Linked DNA regions of Homo sapiens: regions 1, 2, 3, 4, 6 and 7 are each linked to region 5. The links are contacts of gene promoters, found by promoter capture Hi-C in blood cells and fetal thymus (Javierre and others, 2016). All regions are on one chromosome and are shown on one strand. The core of a region is centred on a gene start or on the middle of the fragment in contact, and the rest is flanking DNA. Distances in the headings are between cores, read along the strand shown.

Region 1 (2,700 bases), core at 166-2,665, 1.2 Mb after region 5:
CAGCTGCTTTCCCTTTTTTCTACAATAAAGCGTTCCTACTCCTCTGACTGCCTCCAAGTCTCTGCCAAACACAAGTGATGATGGCTGACTCCTTTGTTATGGGAGGCTTTGAATAAATAGCCTTTACTTGTTCTCATTTAGATGGTCCTCATTTATTTCCACAAGAGGAAACAAAGCTTCATTCCTTAAGTGCAGCCTGTGCAAAGCGAACTCCTTCCCAAGAGCACAGTATGAGGAAGTAAAGGGTAACTTTACAGTGAAGAAACCTGATCAACACTCTCTCTGCCAGGGGATCAAGGTCAATATCAACAGTGATAAGTTGGTATTATGTCATGACAAAAATGGCACTTGACCTCTGTGGTCTTCCTCCCAAAAACTCAAAATCCCAGAAAATCATAAGAAGAATATCAAACAAATCTCAATTAAGCGATAGTCTAAAAAATTCTTGACTGGTACTCCTCAAAATTGTTAAGGTTATCAAAAACAAGGAAAGTCTGAAAAACTGCCACATCCAAGAGGATTCTAGGGAGATATGATACTCCTCAAAATTGTAAAGTTATCAAAAACAAGGAAAGTCTGAAAAACTGCCACATGCAAGAGGATTGTAGGGAGATATGATACTCCTCAAAATTGTAAAGTTATCAAAAACAAGGAAAGTCTGAAAAACTGCCACATCTAAAAGGGTTCTAAAAAATAGTTTTTTTGAAAAAGAGAGAGAAAGCAATATGAACACTTGTGGCGAAATGTTAACAAACGTTAAATATGGATGATGGGTCACCCCACTATTATTATTTCTCATATTATTTCCTGTCCCTTTCTATACAGGTAAAATATATCAGAATTTCAATTATTTTTAATGCTTCAAAATGAACTCCAATTTAACCCCAACAGATTCTAGCTTTTCCCTCTTTTTCACCCTCCCATCTGTCACACTGACAGTTTTCTGAAGGGACCAAGCAGATGCACATTCTCATATTCTCCAAGCAGCCTGGGAATTCCTAAAGTTATTCCAGTAACTACCACTATGATTTGAAAGCTTTCTCTCATCCCCTTGTTTTGGTATTTATTTCTCCTTTGTGCTCTACACATTTTACTTTGCATTATAGTTTTGTGCCCATTTTTCTTTCCCTGAGTGCTCAATATCTCAAGATACTGAAGACAGGGACCATGTCTTGGTCATCATTCCATTCCTCTACACCCGCACCAAGCACTGCGACTCGCTAATAGTATGACTCAATGAATTTATTATTTGATTGTAAGAGAAAAGAGGTTCAACATAAAGTCCTTTTCTAAGCCAGGCATGGTGGCGCACACCCGTAGTCGAAATAATCAGAAGGTTGAGGCAGAAGGATTGCTTGAGCCCAGGAATTCGAGTCCAGCACGGTCAACATAGTAAGACACTGTCTCAAGAAGAAGCAAAAAGAAGGAAGAAGAAGGAAGAAGGAGGGAGGGAGGGAGGGAGGGAGGAAAGGAAGGAAGGAAGGAAGGAAGGAAGGAAGGAAGGAGGGAGGGAGGGAGGGAGGGAGGGAGGGAGGGAGGGAGAGAGGGAAGTAGGGGAGGGGATAGGGAGGAGAATTTGTAAAACAAAACAAAAAAAGTGAATATTAGAAAAAAAATTTAAATCCTTTTTTATAGTGCAACGAATCAGTATGAACAAAATCTGAGAAATGATTAATGAAATTTAGCTTTGAAATTACCAATGAGGTTTAAGAAGTTCCAGGAAAATTATGAAAGCAGGTAACAGAATACAAAGAGTTAAGGAGCAAAGTTAAGAAAGAGATAATATAAGCTTATTCATTTAGACCAGGAGTGGAGCTCCTCATGCTGCTATCATATTTCACCCCAAAACTGAATGGAAACAGAAAACCTACAGAGGACATACATGTAACTATGAAAATGAAGAACAGATGCATTTAAAAAGAACTATCAGTCTAGAAACTGACTTAAGAGAAAAAGCTGATTGAGTTAGACACCAAGAAGTACAAAACAAAGTCAATATTATAGTAGGAGCCACAACAGTAACTACAAGTAAATATCTAAAATGTATTGAGCACTAGCAAGTGCTGGCACTGGTTAAGGCTTTTTTCATAGTATCTCATTTAATCCTCCTAACAGTCCTATGAGGTACTCATCATTATCATGCTCAGTTATAAACAAGGTAACTAGTGTTAAGATCACAGAACTGGTAAATGACTGTTGACCTTTTTGCTAGAATGTGGTAAGGGCGCCATCATTTTTTATCGCAGGTCAGTAATTCAAGAATGGAAAGGCTGGACACAATTAGCAGAAAGGTCCACTGGGACTGGACCCGCTAGAGCTGTAGACCTGCCTCTGGGACACTGACCTGCACAAGCTGCCTGACCAAATTCACTCCTTAATGTCCACAATAGGAACTGGTAAGGCAGGGAGAGGGGACAGCAGTCCTAAGCACCAGGAGCCAGAAGTGAGAGTAGCGCAAGTGGAGCACTCAAAGGCAGAATTGGTCATTAATGGCCACCACCACTGCGGGTATGTGAGCCCTACCAAACTCTGCAGGGGAATGGGGTCTTCCAGAACAGGCTCAGAATTACTACCTATTCATACCAATATAGCCTTCGTCCTACACATCTAGGAGAACATTGCTTGAGAAACCCAGGTTTATATGAGTTATTTTGCAATTAGTGGCAAAAAAAAAAAAAAAGAGTGATAGAAACTCACAAA
Region 2 (2,700 bases), core at 133-2,632, 1.2 Mb after region 5:
CATAGTCTTTAGTTTTATACTTTGTTATAAATTTAAGAATCTACTTTTGTAAACAATTTTCAGAGTTCATCTGAAATTTAAACACAAGAAATAACTGTTCTGACTTGTTGGTTTTTATTTAAAAAATCTCATCCATGTTCACTGGTTGGGTTTTTGAATTGGTCAATATTCTATACTCATGAATAACATCCTACATAACTGATTATCCTTATTTAGTGACTTACCTAGACCCGAATAAGTGCAAATCCAACATGTTTAGTTTAGAGATATAGTAAGAGCAGAAAAACAGGTTTGGAAGGGAATTTGCCATTTCTAACTTCTTCAAGTCAACACACTCTGTCATAAAATATTGAAGAGATGGACTTTCAAAGACCTGTATATAGTTGAAAAGATGATTTGGTTAGCAAAAAGCTTGGGGAGAAGTTCTCTAAGATATAATTCTGCATGTATAAGGCAGAATGCATTTCCGTAATTAACATACACTGCATGTACATCTTAATCTGACAGTGAGAGATTCACAATGACTAAGTTGAGACATTATGATACATTATTATCACATTTACCTTTGTTTCCCCATTCCTAACAAAGATATCTTAGTTTCCATATAAAGGCTTTCACAGACATGTCAACACTCAGTGACGTTCCTTAGCATCACTGATTTGTTTAAAATATCAAAATTATTGTAATAAGACCAGCTGTGTTGATATACGGAATAATTCTAAAAGCAAGAATACAAAATAAAATAATCAGGTGGGGCGTGGTGGCTCACTCCTGTAATCCCAGCACTTTGGGAGGCTGAGGCGGATGGATCACCTGAGGTCAGGAATAGGAGACCAGCCTGGCCAACATGGTGAAACCCTGTCTCTACTAAAAACACAAAAATTAGACAGGCGTGATGGCACATGCCTGTAAGCCCAGAAACTCCGGAGGCTGAGGCAGGAGAATCACTTGAATCTGGGAGGCGGAGGTTGCAGTGAGCCAAGATCATGCCACTGCACTCCAGCCTGGGCAACAGAGTGAGACTCTGTCTCCAAAATAATAATAATAATAATAATATAAAAAATAAAACAATCGGAGCCTTGTATAAAAAATCTGAAAGCAACCTAATGCTTTCTCCACCCTAAAACCCTGCCCCAGCCAATGAAAGATGTTTTCTTATTTTCAAAGAAAAAGAAAAAAGAAAATTTCTTTGGAAAGAAGTAGAGAAGTGAACATAGCCTCTCCCTTACACTGCTAAAATATCAGGAGACAAGACCAGAGGAAGATGGATGAGATTAAAAAAAAAATCTTAGAGACAACAGATAGATCAGATGTGTTCAACAAAAAGACCAGAAATTTATTTTAAGGAACCCTCTAAAGTTCGGCCAGCTCTCTTGCTTCTTAGGCTAACTAATCATGAAAGGTAACAATATTACCCACTTTCTTTAATTACTCTATTTATTCTTTACTCTGGTACTCACCCTCTTTACTCTTGGGAAAATACTCTAAGATGGGGCAGTTTGTCAGTTGCACTTTAAATAGTGTGGAAATGTAATGGTATACATTTTTTAATTTCTTGACACTCAAACCCAAGAGGTTTTATTTTTATTTTTTATTTGTATAGCACTTTTAATCAAAATAAAAATCCTTTGTCTAAAATATTCTGCATATGTAAAATATTGGCCGGGCGTGGTGGCTCACGCCTGTAATCCCAACACTTTGAGAGGCCGAGGTGGGCGGATCACGAGGTCAGGAGATCGAGACCAACCTGGCTAACATGGTGAAACCCCGTCTCTACTAAAAATACAAAAAATTAGCCAGGCGTGGTGGTGGACGCCTGTAATCCCAGCTACTCGGGAGGCTGAGGCAGGAGAATGGCGTGAACCCGGGAGGCAGAGCTTGCAGTGAGCCGAGATTGCGCTACTGCACTCACTTCAGCCTGGGGGACAAAGTGAAACTCTGTCCAAAAAAAAAAAAAAAACTATGCTAATTTTATTACTTTATTTTAAAACTGCATTTTTTGGTCCATAACTGGCTAAGATTTCAGGAACCAGAGCCACATCTAGATATCACTTCGAAAAATTACATGATATCAAAAATACCTGGCACTAGTGATAACCATCACTTTAAATGATTCGAAGCCAAATACAAAAATCATATGCTATCTATTTACTTCCCATGTGCATAGCATGCTGTTGTCTGGTTTTGGCTTTTAATGTCAAGTTCATGCATATGAACCTCCAAAATACCTGACAGATTTAGACAAGTCAATTAAACAACCTTTTGCATTAAAAAAGTCAGAAAGCAGGTTAAACTTATGTTATAGAATTATCAGTAGAAATTTTTAAAATCTGCTGGCCATGATGTAAGCTTAAATTTGTTTCTATTGACACAGAGCATTTACTCCTAGATTTCCGAAAATTGATTCTATTCTCTTAATCAGGATGTATTCCCTTACACTTGATCAGTTACATTTCATTTTTTCTCATTTCTAATATCCAAGACTATACTTACGCATGCAAATTAAAGTGAAAATTTCACAGTCATCTGGTATATTTGGCCTCTGCGGAAACCTAATCCAAAAAAAGGAAAGAAAGAAGAGCCAGATTATTTTTATCTTAAAGTACATTTCAGGCTAATATTAAGTAAAGTGATTGCCCACAGCAACCTAAATTAATTGTATTTTTAATATTAATTGTAGCCTCTCTTCTTTACTTTGCA
Region 3 (2,700 bases), core at 176-2,675, 1.3 Mb after region 5:
AGAAAAACTATCAGTGTTAGACAACTAACATTTGGTTGTTTGTTAATGTCATGGTCAATTAACACAACTGGTCTCAAGTAAAGTCCTTTATGGCTGTGGAAAAGTGTAAAAACTCATATATTTTAAAAGTAATTATCTTTCTAAACAAATAATTGCTTAAGTTATTTATAGTTGAGTGTATACCTGCGGTCCATTTCCTCAGCTAGTTTTGAAAAGGTACACACAAGTAGTGCCCCTGGAGAAGCCTGACGTAGATCATTCTAGAGTTACTCAGGAATTATTGAAGACCTTCTTCTTCTTTTTCTTTTTCTTTTTTTCTTTTTTTTTGTTTTTGAGATGGAGTCTTGCCTTGCTCTCTTGCCAGGCTGGAGTGCCGGGCTGCCATCTCTGCTCACTACAATCTCTGCCTCCCAGGTTCAAGTGATTCTTCTGCCTCAGCCTCCTGAGTAGCTGGGATTATAGGTGTGTGCCACCACACCCGGCTAATTTTTGTATTTTTAGTAGAGACGGGGTTTCACCATGTTGGCCAGGATGGTCTCGATCTCCTGACCTCATGATTCACCAGCCTCAGCCTCCCAAAGTGCTGGGATTACAGGCGTGAGCCACCACGCCCAGCCAACACTTCTTTTTCAACCCCTCCTCCGTCCCGAACGTGCTATCCTTCCTAATTTCCTTCCTACCAACCTCACCAGACCCACCTCTGCCACTGCCCCTGAATGCATATGTCATTGAAACACACAAAGCTGCATATATATCATATGCTCTCAGGCTTCTGTCAAAGCTTTCTGGAATGTTGTTTGCTACCTATCCTTTAAAATTCTGTTATCGGTTTTCTTTGAAACTCTCATTGAATCCTCTAGCTAAGCTAATAATTTCTTCTAGATTACCATAGAAACTTTTCCATTGATTTTTGTTGTATATACCAGTGATGAGGTATACAGATTTTATCATCACTAAATCCTGGATTCTGATCTTCGTTCTAGCTCTAGTTAACCTTAAGGAACTTACTCTGCAGGCTTGCATTTCTTCATCTATACATTAGGGATAACAATAGTACCACCTTTGTAGGGCTGCTGTGAGGATTTAACAAGACAATGCAGGCAAAGTGCTTAGCACACAGTGCAGGCCTTAGTAAAAGTCTCAATAAATATTAGCTATTATCATCATATTATAATACCAATTTGGTCTTTAAGGACATGTCTGGCACATACAATGTCTGGCAAATAAATGCTTAAAAAAGCTTTGTTGGAATGCATATTGATTAAACGACACTTTTATTTCGCATCCCTAAATGAGAGCTGAAAAGTTGATTTAGCAACACATACGGGATTTAGAGATTGTTCTAAAATGTGGACTGGGGACTCCAGAATGGGAAAGTGAACAATTTTTTCCCAAAAACCTCAAAATCATACCAATATCTCCAAGTCTTTACTACTCCATATTCAGTCACCACTTAAATATCTCCCTAGTTGATTTCTTACTCTTTAATTCTCCTGTCACTATAAGTTCAAGCCTTTAGTATCTTCATACCATGTCCCAAACAAAGTACAGGGGACAGGGAGTATTCAAAATGATCCTTTAGGGTGAAGCAAGGAAATACTAAAGCTTGTATTTTCTTCTGCTTTTTTTTTTTTTTTTTTTTGGAGACAAGACTTGCTCTGTCACCCAAGCTGGAGTGCAGCAGCGTGATCATAGCTCACTGTAGCCTCCATCTCCTGGGCTCAAGTGATCCTCCCACCTCAGCCACCTGACTAGTTGGGACTACAGGCGTGCAACACCACACCTGGCAAGTTTTTAAAATTTTTCGTAGACAGGGGGTTTTGCTATGTTGCCTAGGCTAGTCTTGAATTCCTGAACTCAAGTGATCTTTCCTGCCTCAGCCTCCCAAAGTGCTGGGATTACAGGCAGGAACCCCCATGCCTGGCCTCTATTTTCATTTACTTATTTGAATTATTGTTACACAACATTTCAGGCATACAAAAAAGCATGGTTTAATTCTTCCAGTTCCCATTCCCTTTTCTTCTTCCTTCAGGTAACCACCAACCTGAATCTCATGTTTATCATTTCCACGTATGTTGCTTCTTTTTCAACACAGGAACACTCCTTTTTATCTGCCTAATGTGGTACCTAACTTTAAAAATATTTATGAGGCTGGGCATGGTAGCTCACGCTTGTAATCCCAGCACTTTGGGATACTGAGGCGGTCGGATCACCTGAGGTCGGGAGTTCGAGACCAGCCTGACCAACATGGAGAAAACCCGCCTCTATTAAAAGTACAAAATCATCTGGGTGTGGTGGCACATGCCCGTAATCCCAGCTACTCAGGAGGCTGAGGCAGGAGAATTGCCTGAACCCGGGAGGCAGAGGTTGCTATGAGCCGAGATCGTGCCATTGCACTCCAGCCTGGGCAACGAGGGCAAAACTCTGTCTCAAAAAAAGAAAGAAAGAAAGAGAGAGAGAGAAAGGAAGGAAGAAAGAAGGAAAGAAAGAAAGAAAGAAAGAAAGAAAGAAAGAAAGAAAGAAAGAAAGAAAGGAATTTTTTTGCATATTTTTGTAAACAACATGGATAGAGATCTTTAGACTAATTACTGTCTTTTTAAAAATCTCCCTATATGGCAGTGTAAATTGTGGGGCATAAATGAAAAGATAAGTCAGACTCTTGACCTGGAAAGATGAAGCAACACAATGCATAGATTTGCT
Region 4 (2,700 bases), core at 118-2,617, 1.2 Mb after region 5:
ATAGCGATATGGACAATAAAGTCCAGACTGAGGTCATCTCAGATGGAAATGAGGAATTTGGGAACTGGAGCAAAGGCGACTCTTATTATGTTTTACCAAAGAGACTGGCGGCACTTTGCCCCTGCCTAAGAGATTTGTGGAACTTTGAACTTAAGGGAGATAATTTAGGGTATCCAGCAGAAGAAACTTCTAAGCAGCAAAGCATTCAAGGGTGACTTGGGTGCTGTTAAAAGCATTCCATTTTAAAAGGGAAGCAGAGCATAAAACTTCAGAAAATTTGCAACCTGACAATGCCAATAGAAAATCCCATTTTCTGAGGAGAAATTCAAGCCAACTGCAGATATTTGCATAAGTAATGAGGAGCCGAATGTTCATCTCCAAGACAATGGGGAAAATGTCTCCAGGGTATGTCAGAGACCTTTGCGGCAGCCTCTCTCATCACAGACCTGGAGGTCTAGGAGGAAGAAATGGTTTCATGGGCAGGGGCCAGGGTCCCGTGCTGTGTGCAGTCTAGGGACTTTGTGCCCTGCATCCCAGCTGCTCCAGCCGTGACTGAAAGGGGCCAGTATAAAGCTCAGGCCATGGCTTCAGAGGATGCAAGCCCAAGCCTTGGAAGCTTCCACATGGTGTTGAACCTGCAGATGCACAGAAGTCAAGAATTGGGGTTTGGGAAACCACGTAGATTTCAGAAGACGTATGGAGATGCCTGGATGCCCAGGCAGAAGTTCACTGCAGGTATAGGGCTCTCATGGAGAACCTCTGCTAGGGCAGTGCAGAAGGGAAATGAAGGGTCAGAGCCCTCACATAGAGTCCCTACTGGTGCTCTGCCTAGTGGAGCTGTGAAAAGAGGGCCACTGTTCTCCAGACCCCAGAATAGTAGCTCCACCTACAGTTTGCATCATGAACCTGGAACAGCCACAGACACTCAACACCAGCCCATGAAAGCAGTGGGAGAGAGGCAGTACCTTGCAAAGCCATGGGGGCAGAGCTGCCCAAGGCCATGGGAACCCACCTCTTGCATCAGTGTGACCGGGATGTGAGACCTGGAGTCAAAGGAGATCATTTTGGAGCTTTAAAATTTGACTGCCCCACTAGATTTTAGACTTGGTTGGGCCCTGTAACCCCTTTGTTTTGGCCAATTTCTCCCATTGGAATGGCTGTATTTACCCAACATCTGTACTAGGACGTAATTAGCTTGCTTTTGACTTTACAGGCTCATAGGCAGAAGGGATTTGCCTTGTCTCAGATGTAACTTTGGACTGTGGACTTTTGGGTTAATGCTGAAATGAGTTAAGACTTTGGGGGACTGTTGGGAAGGCATGATTGGTTTTGAAATGTGAGGACATGAAATTTGGAGAGGCCAGAGGTGAAATGATATGGTTTGGCTCTGTGTCCCCACCCAAATCTCATCTTGAATTGTACTCTTCTAATTCCCACGTGTTGTGGGAGGGTGTCAGTAGGAGATAATTTGAATCATGGGGGCGGTTTCACCCATATTGTTCTCTTGGTAGTGAACAAGTCTCACAAGATCTGATGGTTTTATGAGGGGTTTCTGCTTTTGCATCTTCCTCATTTTCTCTTGCCGCCACCATGTAAGAAGTGCCTTTTGCCTCCCCCCATGATTCTGAAGCCTCCCCTGCCATGAGGAACTGTAAGTCCAATTAAACCTCTTTTTCTTCCAAGTCTTGGGCATATCTTTATCAGTAGCATGAAAACAGACTAATACATGGCTGAATAACATTTCTGCCTCCCCACATTCAAGCAGAGAGCCCTGCTTAATGCCTCAAAGGAGGCATGTGTCAGGGTGGAAAAAGTAGTAGCCTAGGAACCTTTCAGGCTTTTTCAAAACAAAATACTAACTATTCATAATAGGTCCAACTGGAAACCACCCAAATATACATCAAAAGTATAATAGATAAATAAAATGTGATCATACAATGGAGTACTATGCAAACCAATGCAACGAGAACGAACAAACCTTTGAGGAGGGATTTGGGTCAGGGTTAGTGATAGGAAGGGGCATATGGAAGGCCTCTCAGTACTGGTAATGTTCTGTTTCTTGATCTGGGACACGGTAATCAAATCTATGTGTCACTTAATGAAAATTCACCAAGCTTTAAACTTAGAATATCTGCTCTTTTCTGTATGAATGTTACATTAATTTTAAAGTCTACTTTTTAAATTTTCCATTCTCATTTTGGGGAGGGAAAGACATTAGTAAAGTATATGGTGTGTCAGATAATGGTAAGTGCAACTAAAAAATAGTAACAAAGCAAGAAAAAGGAACAGTCAGTGCCAGGTATATAGATGGGTATGGAAGGGGATTTACAATTTTAAAGGGTCATGGAAAGCTGAACTTAGAAGGTGACATTTAATTAGAAACCTGAAAAGAGTATGGGTATGCAGCTTTCTAAAGGAAAGTACACAGAATAGATAGTTCAACCTATGCTTGTATACTGCAAATTATATCACAAAGAGAAAGTAATCCACCTAACTTCTACCATCTTTTATTTTTTTCAGTGGAATTATAACAACCTGGACCATTATAACATTTTTTAAAATGTTGTTTCCCCTGTGTGCATACAACAGAACAAAACAAAACAACACTAACCCCTTAGAGGAAGGGGATTGATTCCTAGGCACAAGCAGAGCTAGTCAAAAGTAAAAGGAATGAGTTTACCCAGAATAGAAAGAAAACGG
Region 5 (2,700 bases), core at 85-2,584:
TTAGACGCCAAGGCAGGAGGATCACTTGAGGTGAGACCAGCTTGGGCAACACAGCGATACCCCCATCTCTATTACCCTGGCCTGGTGACCTATAGTCCCAGCTACTCAGGAGGCAGAGGCAGAGGCAGGAGGATTGCTTGGGCTCAGGAGTTCAAGGTTGCATTGAGCCATGATCAAGCCACTGCACTCCAGCCTGGGCAACAGAGTGAGACCCTCGACTCAAAAAAAGAAAAAAAAAAAAAAACTTAAAAAAAGCTTCTGTTTTTGTCTTTGTGATAATTACATGATTAAAAAAGGGAAAAAATAGAAAAAGAAAACCTCTTTCTGTATGTGATCGGTGTATCTTATCTCAAAATATCCTGGATTTTTGACACTTTTCTACTAGGAAGGTTACCAATCTATTATTTCAGGCAGGATATTTCGTTTCTTAGGCCTGTTTATTTCTAAAATGAAAAGTGGATGAGTACTAAATTAATCGATGTTGGACGATTTTCCAGCATGTTAAAAAACTGTCTTCCAGGACAGGCTTCTGTAATTCAAAAGTAAAGAAACTATATAAGCAGTGTCACAGGGTACCAATAACGCATCATTAAAAGCATTCGGTATTTAATTTTTGTCACCCAGTTTGTACCTGAGCTTAACGTAGTGTTTTTGTCCTAAGACTTTAAAACGGTAACACTTGTAAAGTCTATTTTAAGACTTCCCATGGGGTTGTTACTTGCTCCTCACTATAATCCATTACAACAGCAACCATTTTTTTTCATTCTACCAACAAGTTGGGACTTCAAGTGGTAAAGGGACAGAAACAGTCTGTGAACCATCGTTAAACTTTTTGCTATCCTCGAACGAGCAAATTATGTGAATAAAACAAGTACAAAGATTTGCAAAACTGTTGTCGCCGCCAGGACGACTGTTCATCTTATTCACAAACTTTAACACTTATGCCATAGGGAAATAGTAAGTAAGAATCAAGAGCGTACATTTTTTTTAAGACAGAAAAGTTCGGAATAATCACACTGGGTTTTTATTTGGGTTTTGCAGGCAAAATGGAAAGGACCCCTGGGCCCGCAGCAGCGGGAAGGCTCGAGGCGCCGCCGGCGAACTCTGGGTCGTTCCGGGGCCCTCATCTCCTCGCCCGCCCCCAGGATCCCGCCGAGGCCAGGCCTCCCAACCTCCCACCGATCCCCGACCGCGGCCTCTCCGCGACCCCGGCTCACGCCCGCGGCGGCCAGCTTGAGGATACGGTTGATGTAGTTCTCCAAAGCGGACGTCATGCTGTTCGGCCCGGCGGTTCCGGGTAACGCAGCGGTGCCGACAGCAAGCAGAACTGAAAGGGCGCGCCAGAACCCGGCAGCGGATAGCGCCTGCGGGTCGCAGCAAATATCGTGAGAGTTGCTGCTCCGCAGCCCTGTGAGTCGGAAATTGGGACGAACTGGCCAACCAAACAGAAGCCGCACAGCGGTGACGAGAGAGTGCGCGTGCGCAGTGTGTTTTCTCTGTAATTCTGGGCCGTGTTCCGGAAGCCTCGTAAGACAAAAGCGAACGAGAGGCGGAAAAAAGGAAGACGCTTCCTGAAGTTGGGGGTATGAGACAGAAGTTGGGGGTATGAGACAGAAGTTGGGGGAGAGTGGGTTTCCAATCCGAGTAAAAGGCAGTGTGGTGGAAGTTAACAAGAGAAAATGTTGAGACGAGGTAGAGCAGGCAGGAATAAACGAAGTAAGGTGTTTTTATTAGGAGTGAAGGAGAGAGACGAGTGCTGTTGTGTGAAACGTAGGTGCGGGTAGTTGAATCCCTAGTTTTCTGCAGCAGAAGCCGAAAATAACGCTAAAAATAAGTTCAGTTGCCCGGGACAGAGTTGCGCACGTTATAACCACACGGTGTACGCCTCTTAAGAACTCAGCAGTGAAATACACTTTCGTATGTTCTGCTTTTGTCTCTAAAAGTGTTCCAAAATGGAGGTGTTTTTACTTTTTAAAGAAACTAAATGCAAATAGGCAAAGGTGTGTGACCATCCCTTAGAAAACGAATGTCCACGCTTCTGCCACGCCAGGATGGTCTACCTTTCTTCAGGGTGAAATTAGTAAGTAAAAGGCTGCTGCAGCACCGAGAAAGGACCGATGCAGGAAGGATGCAGGAAGGCACCAAACTTGGTTCTAATCTTGGCTCTGCTAACAAATTGGTGTCATTGCACAGGTCACTTCAATTCTTCTGGGCCTCAGTTTCGTTAGATAGTCCCATAGGTATCATTTCAGATATTTCCCAATGCGATACTGTTCCCACTTCATTTACTGTTGCCCTAACTTGAGAGAGCTTGAAGTTAGAAAGAGATTTATACACAAAACACCAGCAGGAGCGATTTCCCTTTTTTGCAAAATATCTTTATAATTTCAGTTAAACATGTATTTTCTTAAGATTTGTGGCTTTGTAATAACTCTTGCAATGTCAGCAGTTTTCCTCGGAAAAGGAAGCATTTCTTAATTAGAGCATACCCACAAGATACTCCCAAATAGTTAATATTTTATATTCTGGAACTTATTCCTATCTGTTTGAAATCAAATGTAGTCAGGAATTAGATTGTGAATGTCTCATATTCTCAGGGTAACAAATGAAAGTGTCTTCCGCTAATGAAAGAACAAAGATAATTGTGTGATTTGCAAATGTTAGGTGTTGAACCAAAACCCAAAGACTAATTAATGATTA
Region 6 (2,700 bases), core at 32-2,531, 1.2 Mb after region 5:
AGTAACCACAGCTGGAAAAAGGAGGTAAATAACTTTTATAAGAGGTGCTGTGTGGTCTCCCTATCACTGATGTTTTAACTCTATCAGAAGATGACTATAAAAAAGGACATTGGGTTTATGTGTTTAAGGTTAGCCAATTAAAAAAAAATATAGCAATTAATCTTGATGTATAATTAGCAGTCATGAGAAACATTACTAAAGTTACTAAAATGCCTGATAAAAATAAGAAAGATTAAGATTTTCGTCCTACAAATATGAATCCAACAATAAATATGCTTATTCATTTTACATCCTGACAGTGATGGTCATTTTATATACATTTGAATCAAAGCTCTAGTGTAATGATCAGAATCAAACTATAGGTTTGTACAACAAACAGGGAGGTACCCAAGCCAGACATATCCCTCTGTAGAAAAGCTTCTTTAGGCAAACCACAGACCTTCCTGTGTGGTTTTGGTCTGTTCACATGATTGGCAAAAGGAACCACTGGAAAATAAGCAAAGAAAGTCATAAAAAATAGTCATGAATGGACTAGTGTGGGTTGTCCCAGAGGCCAAAAACAAAAAAAAAAAAACAAAAAAAAAGTGGAGAAGTTCTTTAAGGAATTTCTTAGCTGTAGCATACAGCTGCAGTTCTAGGTAAGCAAAGAAGATCACAAATTTCCATGGTACTACAAAACAAATCATTCTCAATGTTTTCTAGCAGGAGCTGGCAAATCCTTTTTATAAAGGGCCAAATAGTAAACAGTTTAGATTTTGTGGGACCATCTGTTCTCTGTCACAACTACTCTATTGTTTCAGTGCAAAAATAGTCATAAACAATACATAAATTAATGTAGCCATGTTCCAATAAAACTTTATTTATAAACTTTGAAATTAAATTTCTTGTAATGTTCACATATCATGACGTATTCTTTTGAAAATTTTTCAGCGATTTAAAAATGTTAAAAAAAAAGTTAGCTTATAAATCTCACAGAAACAGGCAGCCCATGGGCTACAGTTTGCCAAACCCTGTTCAACAATATTTACTGTGGTTGATTTGACCTTTCTCTGCAAGAGCTCTAATCTTCAATTAGGTCTCTGCCATTGACAAGACTCACGAAGATAATGGAATCCATCAACAACTGCCTGATTGCATCAGGGTCAGAAATTCAAGAAAAGTTTCATCCCAATTCCCTTCATTTCTGATGATACTATGAACAATACCTCATTCCCTATCACATTAGAACTGGTGATAAATGCTCAATTTCTGAGAAATTGTCAACTACTTTCCCAGATAAGGAAAACCACATACCTCCAATCCACATACATCTCTAGCCCTTGAAGATTATATAAAAATGGAAATCATGGGCTAAGATTTCCAAGTCTCTTCAATTATATTATAAGCCAGGAAAACTTTCTATAAAACATACTCATAGTGTAGAACACAAGTAATAGCTAGTTTGTCTGAGAAAATCTGACCCTGTTCACCAACAATTGCTGAAAGGGAATTCTTGAGAAACAAGAAACAGACTACAATCCTAACTGCACAGTTAATTAATTTGGTTAGACATTTCACAACAGTATCACTTCATTTATGAAATGAAGAACTTAAAATTATTTCTGAGGTTTTTTTCTAGCTCTAAAATACAACAATTCTGTAATGAGTTACGCTGATCATGATACCTACCTCATTAAGGGTTTCGGCAGATTTCTATTAAAGTTCACATGGATGACTTTTTTTGTCATTAGCCTTCAGATAAGAAGCAGATAATTTCCTCTCTGCTTTTTTGTCTCTGGTTTTTTGAAAGGCTATTGAAAATATATTTCTAATCAAGACAACTGCTACATTCTTAAAATTTTAACACAGATTCTTACAGTTTTAACACAGATATAGGTGATTCTAAGAGAAAATGTAGTGAAGTGTATTACTTGGAAAATGTTTCTAGAGACAGACATTTGTGCCTGTGCAACTATAGACTTCAAATTCATAGAGACAGAAAGTAGAATGGTGATTGCCAGAGGCAGGAGGAAGAAGAAAATGGGGAGTTGTTTAATGGGTACAGAACTTCAGTTTCGTAAAATGAAAAGAATTCTGAAGACTGGTTGCATGGCAATGTGAGCATGAGCTCCTAAGAAGACAGTCAGCCTGTCCTGTGAAGCTTTGAAGCCAGGCATTGACTTCTCTCCAGCTATGAAAGGCCTAGATGGCATCTTCCTCCAATATAACACTGTTTTCACCTACACTGAAAATCTGTTGTTGAGTGTAGCCACCTTCATCAGGTATCTCAGCTAGACCTTCTTGATAATTTGCTGCAGCTTCTACATTAACACTTGTACTTTACCTTGCACTTTTATGTTATGCAGATGGCTTCTTTCACTAAACCAAATAAACCAACCTCTGCTAGCTTCAAAGCGTTCCTCTGCAGCTTCCTCACCTCTCTCAGCCTTCATAGAACCCCTGAAGAAATTAAAGAGAGTTCCTTGCTCTAAATTAGACTTCGGCTTAAGGGAATGTTATGGCTGGTTTGATTTTCTATCAGACCACTCTAACTTTCTCCATATAAGCAATAAAGCTGTTTCATTCTGTTACATTTGTGTGTTCATTGGAGTAGCACTTTACATTTCCTTCAAGAATTTTTCCCTCGCATCCATATCTTGGCTAACTGGCACAAGAGGCCTAGCTTCTGGCCTATGTCAGCTTTTGACATGCCTTCGTCAT
Region 7 (2,700 bases), core at 45-2,544, 1.3 Mb after region 5:
GCGGAACCATGAACAGAGGACACAGCTGACATGTGCCTGAACCCATGAGAACTGTGAGATAATAAGGTTGCATTATTTTAAGACCTAACTTTGTGACCACTTGTTATACAGCAATAGAAAATGAATATATTTTCTATGACAGTGGGCTTGGGGGAAGGGCAATACACTTATTCTCATCTCTACCTTTAACCTTCTCCTGGGTAATGTTATCACTTTGGACCTACAGTCCACAAATTACAAGTGAGAGAAAGAAGGATCTTGACAGTCCAGTTCAGTGGACTTGGAAACATTTTTATTTTTTTATTTTTTTGAGATGGAGTCTCGCTCTGTTGCCCAGGCTGGAGTGTAGCTAACTCTGCTCATTTAATCTCCACCTCCCAGTTCAAGTGATTCTCCTGCCTCAGCCTCCTGAGTAGATGGGATTACAGGTGCACGCCACCACGCCTGGCTAATTTTTTTGTATTTTTAGTAGAGATGGAATTTTGCCATGTTTGTCAGGCTGGTCTTAAACTCCTGACCTCAAGTAATCTGCCTGCCTCGGCCTCCCAAAGTGCTGGGATTACAGGTGTGAGCCACTGCACCCAGCAGGGCAATCCTTGCAAAATTTGAAGTTGTAAGAAGTTCTGCTGGGCTCAAATGTCTCCTCAAATAACCCAGACAAGAGAGGAGGAGTTCAGTATGGCTGCTAATTCCTTTCTTCCATTCTGAGTCTTCCCTGCCATCTTTCCTATTGTCATGTCAATCTACTTACTTGAGGCAATAATTTCAATGTTTTATCATGGCCTAACAAGGGTCACCAGCTTTCCAGCCTGCAATATCTAGGCCCTACTAAATCCCCCTAGTCACTGGAGTAATATTCCCTTCCTCTAGGGCATTATTTTTGACTGTTACAAGGATTAGGAGGTGTCAGTAGCATTTAGTGTCTAGGGATAGAGGAGAACAGTCTTGCACGTTGTAGTGGACTCAGATGTCAGCAGAACCCCTGTTGACTTACATTGCCTTTAACCAATGCCACACTTCAGATTTTGATACTTGCAGGATCCTATTTCTGGCACTAAATGCTATATAGGGTGAGAGGCAGGGGTTGCAGGGGTGGCAGGGGTGATAAGAAATAAAATACATTCCAAAGAGCAGTGGCTTAAATATGTTTATTTCTCAATAAATGTCCAGTGAGGAAGTTCAAGTTTGGTAAGGCTCTCCATAATGTCAGGAGCTCAGGTGCCATAGGCACTGCTTTTCAATTTTCTTTCTTTCTTTTTTTTTTTTTTTTTTTTTTATAGACACAAGAGAGTTTCACAGTGTTGCCCAGGCTGACTGTGAACTCCTGGGCTCAAGTGATCCTCCCACCTCAGTCTCCCAAAGTGCTGGGATTAGAGGTGTAAGCTACCACGCCTGGCCCATGCTTTTCAATTTTCTATAGGACTCTTATGTTATTGTGCTGTAGGTACTCATTAGATTTTTGAAAAAGTAACCACCTGTTAGGTAAGTTGCAAATGTTTTCCCTTGTGAATGATGTCTTCTGACTTTGTTTAGAGCATTTTAAGCCATGTAGAAAATCTTAATTTTTATGAAGTATATATATATTTTTTTTTCTTGAGATGGAGTCTCACTCTGTTGTCCACGCTGGAATGCAGTGGCACGATCTTGGCTCACTGCAACCTCCGCCTCCCGAGTTCACACGATTCTTCTGCCTCAGTCTCCCAAGTAGCTCGGATTACAGGCACCCACCACCATGCCTGGATAATTTTGGTATTTTTTAGTAGAGACGGGGTTTCACCATGTTGGCCAGGCTGGTCTCGGACTCCTGAACTCAAGTGATCTGCCCACCTTGGCTTCCCAAAGTGCTGGGATTACAGGCATGAGACACTGCACCCAGCCAAATACATTTTTATTTTTATTGAATGGATTCTAAGGGTTTTTTCTAAAATTATTCTGATATTGCTATTACTTAAAAAATACCATTTCTTCAAGAACATTTATGATATCTTTTTTTTTTTTTTTTTGAGATGGAATCTCGCTCTGTCACCCAGGCTAGAGTGCAGTGGCGCAATCTCAGCTCACTGCAACCTCCGTAGCTGGGATTACAGGAACCCATCACCACACCCGGCTAATTTTTGTACTTTTAGTAGAGACGGGGTTTCACCATGTTGGACAGGGTGGTTTCCAACTCCTGACCTCAAGTGATCCGCCTGCCTCGGCCTCCCAAAGTGCTGGGATTACAGGTGTGAGCCACCGCACGTGGCCAATATCATTTTATATCATTAAATCTTTGGTGCAATTTTAACTTGGTGTAAGGTATGAGGTATAGATCCAACTTTTCTCCCACAGCTGGCTACCCTGTTGTCTCAGCATCATTCATCTGTTGCCCCATTGATTTGAGATGCTGCCCTTAAAGTGAGGATTAGGGACTAAACTTTATCAAATGGTTTAATGATATTTTCTCAGAGAATTATATGTGCTTTTCTTTAATATGCTAATATAGGAGGCTACTGTACTAGATTTCCTAACAGGGAACAATCATTGGTTTCCAGTGATAAACCATACTTGATCATAATGTAGTATTCTTTATTAATGTATTAAGGAATTTTACTTTTGACTATACAGGGAAGTTTGATCAGTTTTCTGGTTTTGGTGCTATTCTTATTTAAGCTTATAAATAAGTCTCATAAAATGATATCTATCTTTTTCTACCATCTAAAA

The links. Contacts are between HindIII fragments. The CHiCAGO score rates a contact against its expected background, and 5 or more counts as called.
Region 1: a contact is called between a fragment that was not itself captured here and the fragment with the promoter of LSM8 in region 5, in 2 of 17 cell types (total B cells and total CD4 T cells). The highest score is 9.8, in total B cells.
Region 2: a contact is called between a fragment that was not itself captured here and the fragment with the promoter of LSM8 in region 5, in 2 of 17 cell types (naive CD4 T cells and activated CD4 T cells). The highest score is 8.0, in naive CD4 T cells.
Region 3: a fragment that was not itself captured here is called in contact with the fragment with the promoter of LSM8 in region 5 in 5 of 17 cell types (naive CD4 T cells, naive CD8 T cells, total CD8 T cells and 2 more); the score reaches 9.7 in naive CD4 T cells.
Region 4: a fragment that was not itself captured here is called in contact with the fragment with the promoter of LSM8 in region 5 in 1 of 17 cell types (total CD8 T cells); the score reaches 6.1 in total CD8 T cells.
Region 6: a fragment that was not itself captured here is called in contact with the fragment with the promoter of LSM8 in region 5 in 4 of 17 cell types (non-activated CD4 T cells, total CD8 T cells, activated CD4 T cells and 1 more); the score reaches 6.0 in non-activated CD4 T cells.
Region 7: a fragment that was not itself captured here is called in contact with the fragment with the promoter of LSM8 in region 5 in 2 of 17 cell types (activated CD4 T cells and total B cells); the score reaches 5.6 in activated CD4 T cells.

The regions. Positions count from the first base shown.
Region 1 is chr7:116,967,099-116,969,798 of GRCh38, reverse strand. All of the region lies in intron 1 of ST7 (suppression of tumorigenicity 7), which reads right to left. Among named protein-coding and RNA genes, the nearest start is that of ST7-AS1, 14 kb to the right of the region's middle. RefSeq lists an enhancer at 1-429. The HindIII fragment of the contact is 753 bases long and covers 1,039-1,791 here.
Region 2 is chr7:116,945,315-116,948,014 of GRCh38, reverse strand. LOC105375465 (a long non-coding RNA gene) reads right to left here. Exons shown (of 3, transcript XR_927895.3): 2 at 2,494-2,552; 3 at 98-373. Among named protein-coding and RNA genes, the nearest start is that of ST7, 6.8 kb to the left of the region's middle. The HindIII fragment of the contact is 1,938 bases long and covers 414-2,351 here.
Region 3 is chr7:116,855,621-116,858,320 of GRCh38, reverse strand. No RefSeq gene overlaps it. Among named protein-coding and RNA genes, the nearest start is that of CAPZA2, 5.6 kb to the left of the region's middle. RefSeq lists an enhancer at 773-1,430. The HindIII fragment of the contact is 365 bases long and covers 1,243-1,607 here.
Region 4 is chr7:116,990,333-116,993,032 of GRCh38, reverse strand. The region is part of intron 1 of ST7 (suppression of tumorigenicity 7); the gene reads right to left. Among named protein-coding and RNA genes, the nearest start is that of MIR6132, 29 kb to the left of the region's middle. The HindIII fragment of the contact is 1,498 bases long and covers 619-2,116 here.
Region 5 is chr7:118,182,798-118,185,497 of GRCh38, reverse strand. It overlaps LSM8 (LSM8 homolog, U6 small nuclear RNA associated), which reads right to left and starts at 1,334. Exons shown (of 4, transcript NM_016200.5): 1 at 1,244-1,334. The coding sequence starts at 1,274. LOC105375470 (a long non-coding RNA gene) reads left to right here and starts at 1,530. Exons shown (of 4, transcript XR_927904.3): 1 at 1,530-1,583. The HindIII fragment of the contact is 4,305 bases long and covers 258-2,700 here.
Region 6 is chr7:117,007,132-117,009,831 of GRCh38, reverse strand. All of the region lies in intron 1 of ST7 (suppression of tumorigenicity 7), which reads right to left. Among named protein-coding and RNA genes, the nearest start is that of MIR6132, 12 kb to the left of the region's middle. The HindIII fragment of the contact is 1,723 bases long and covers 420-2,142 here.
Region 7 is chr7:116,925,784-116,928,483 of GRCh38, reverse strand. No RefSeq gene overlaps it. Among named protein-coding and RNA genes, the nearest start is that of ST7, 26 kb to the left of the region's middle. The HindIII fragment of the contact is 2,714 bases long and covers 1-2,651 here.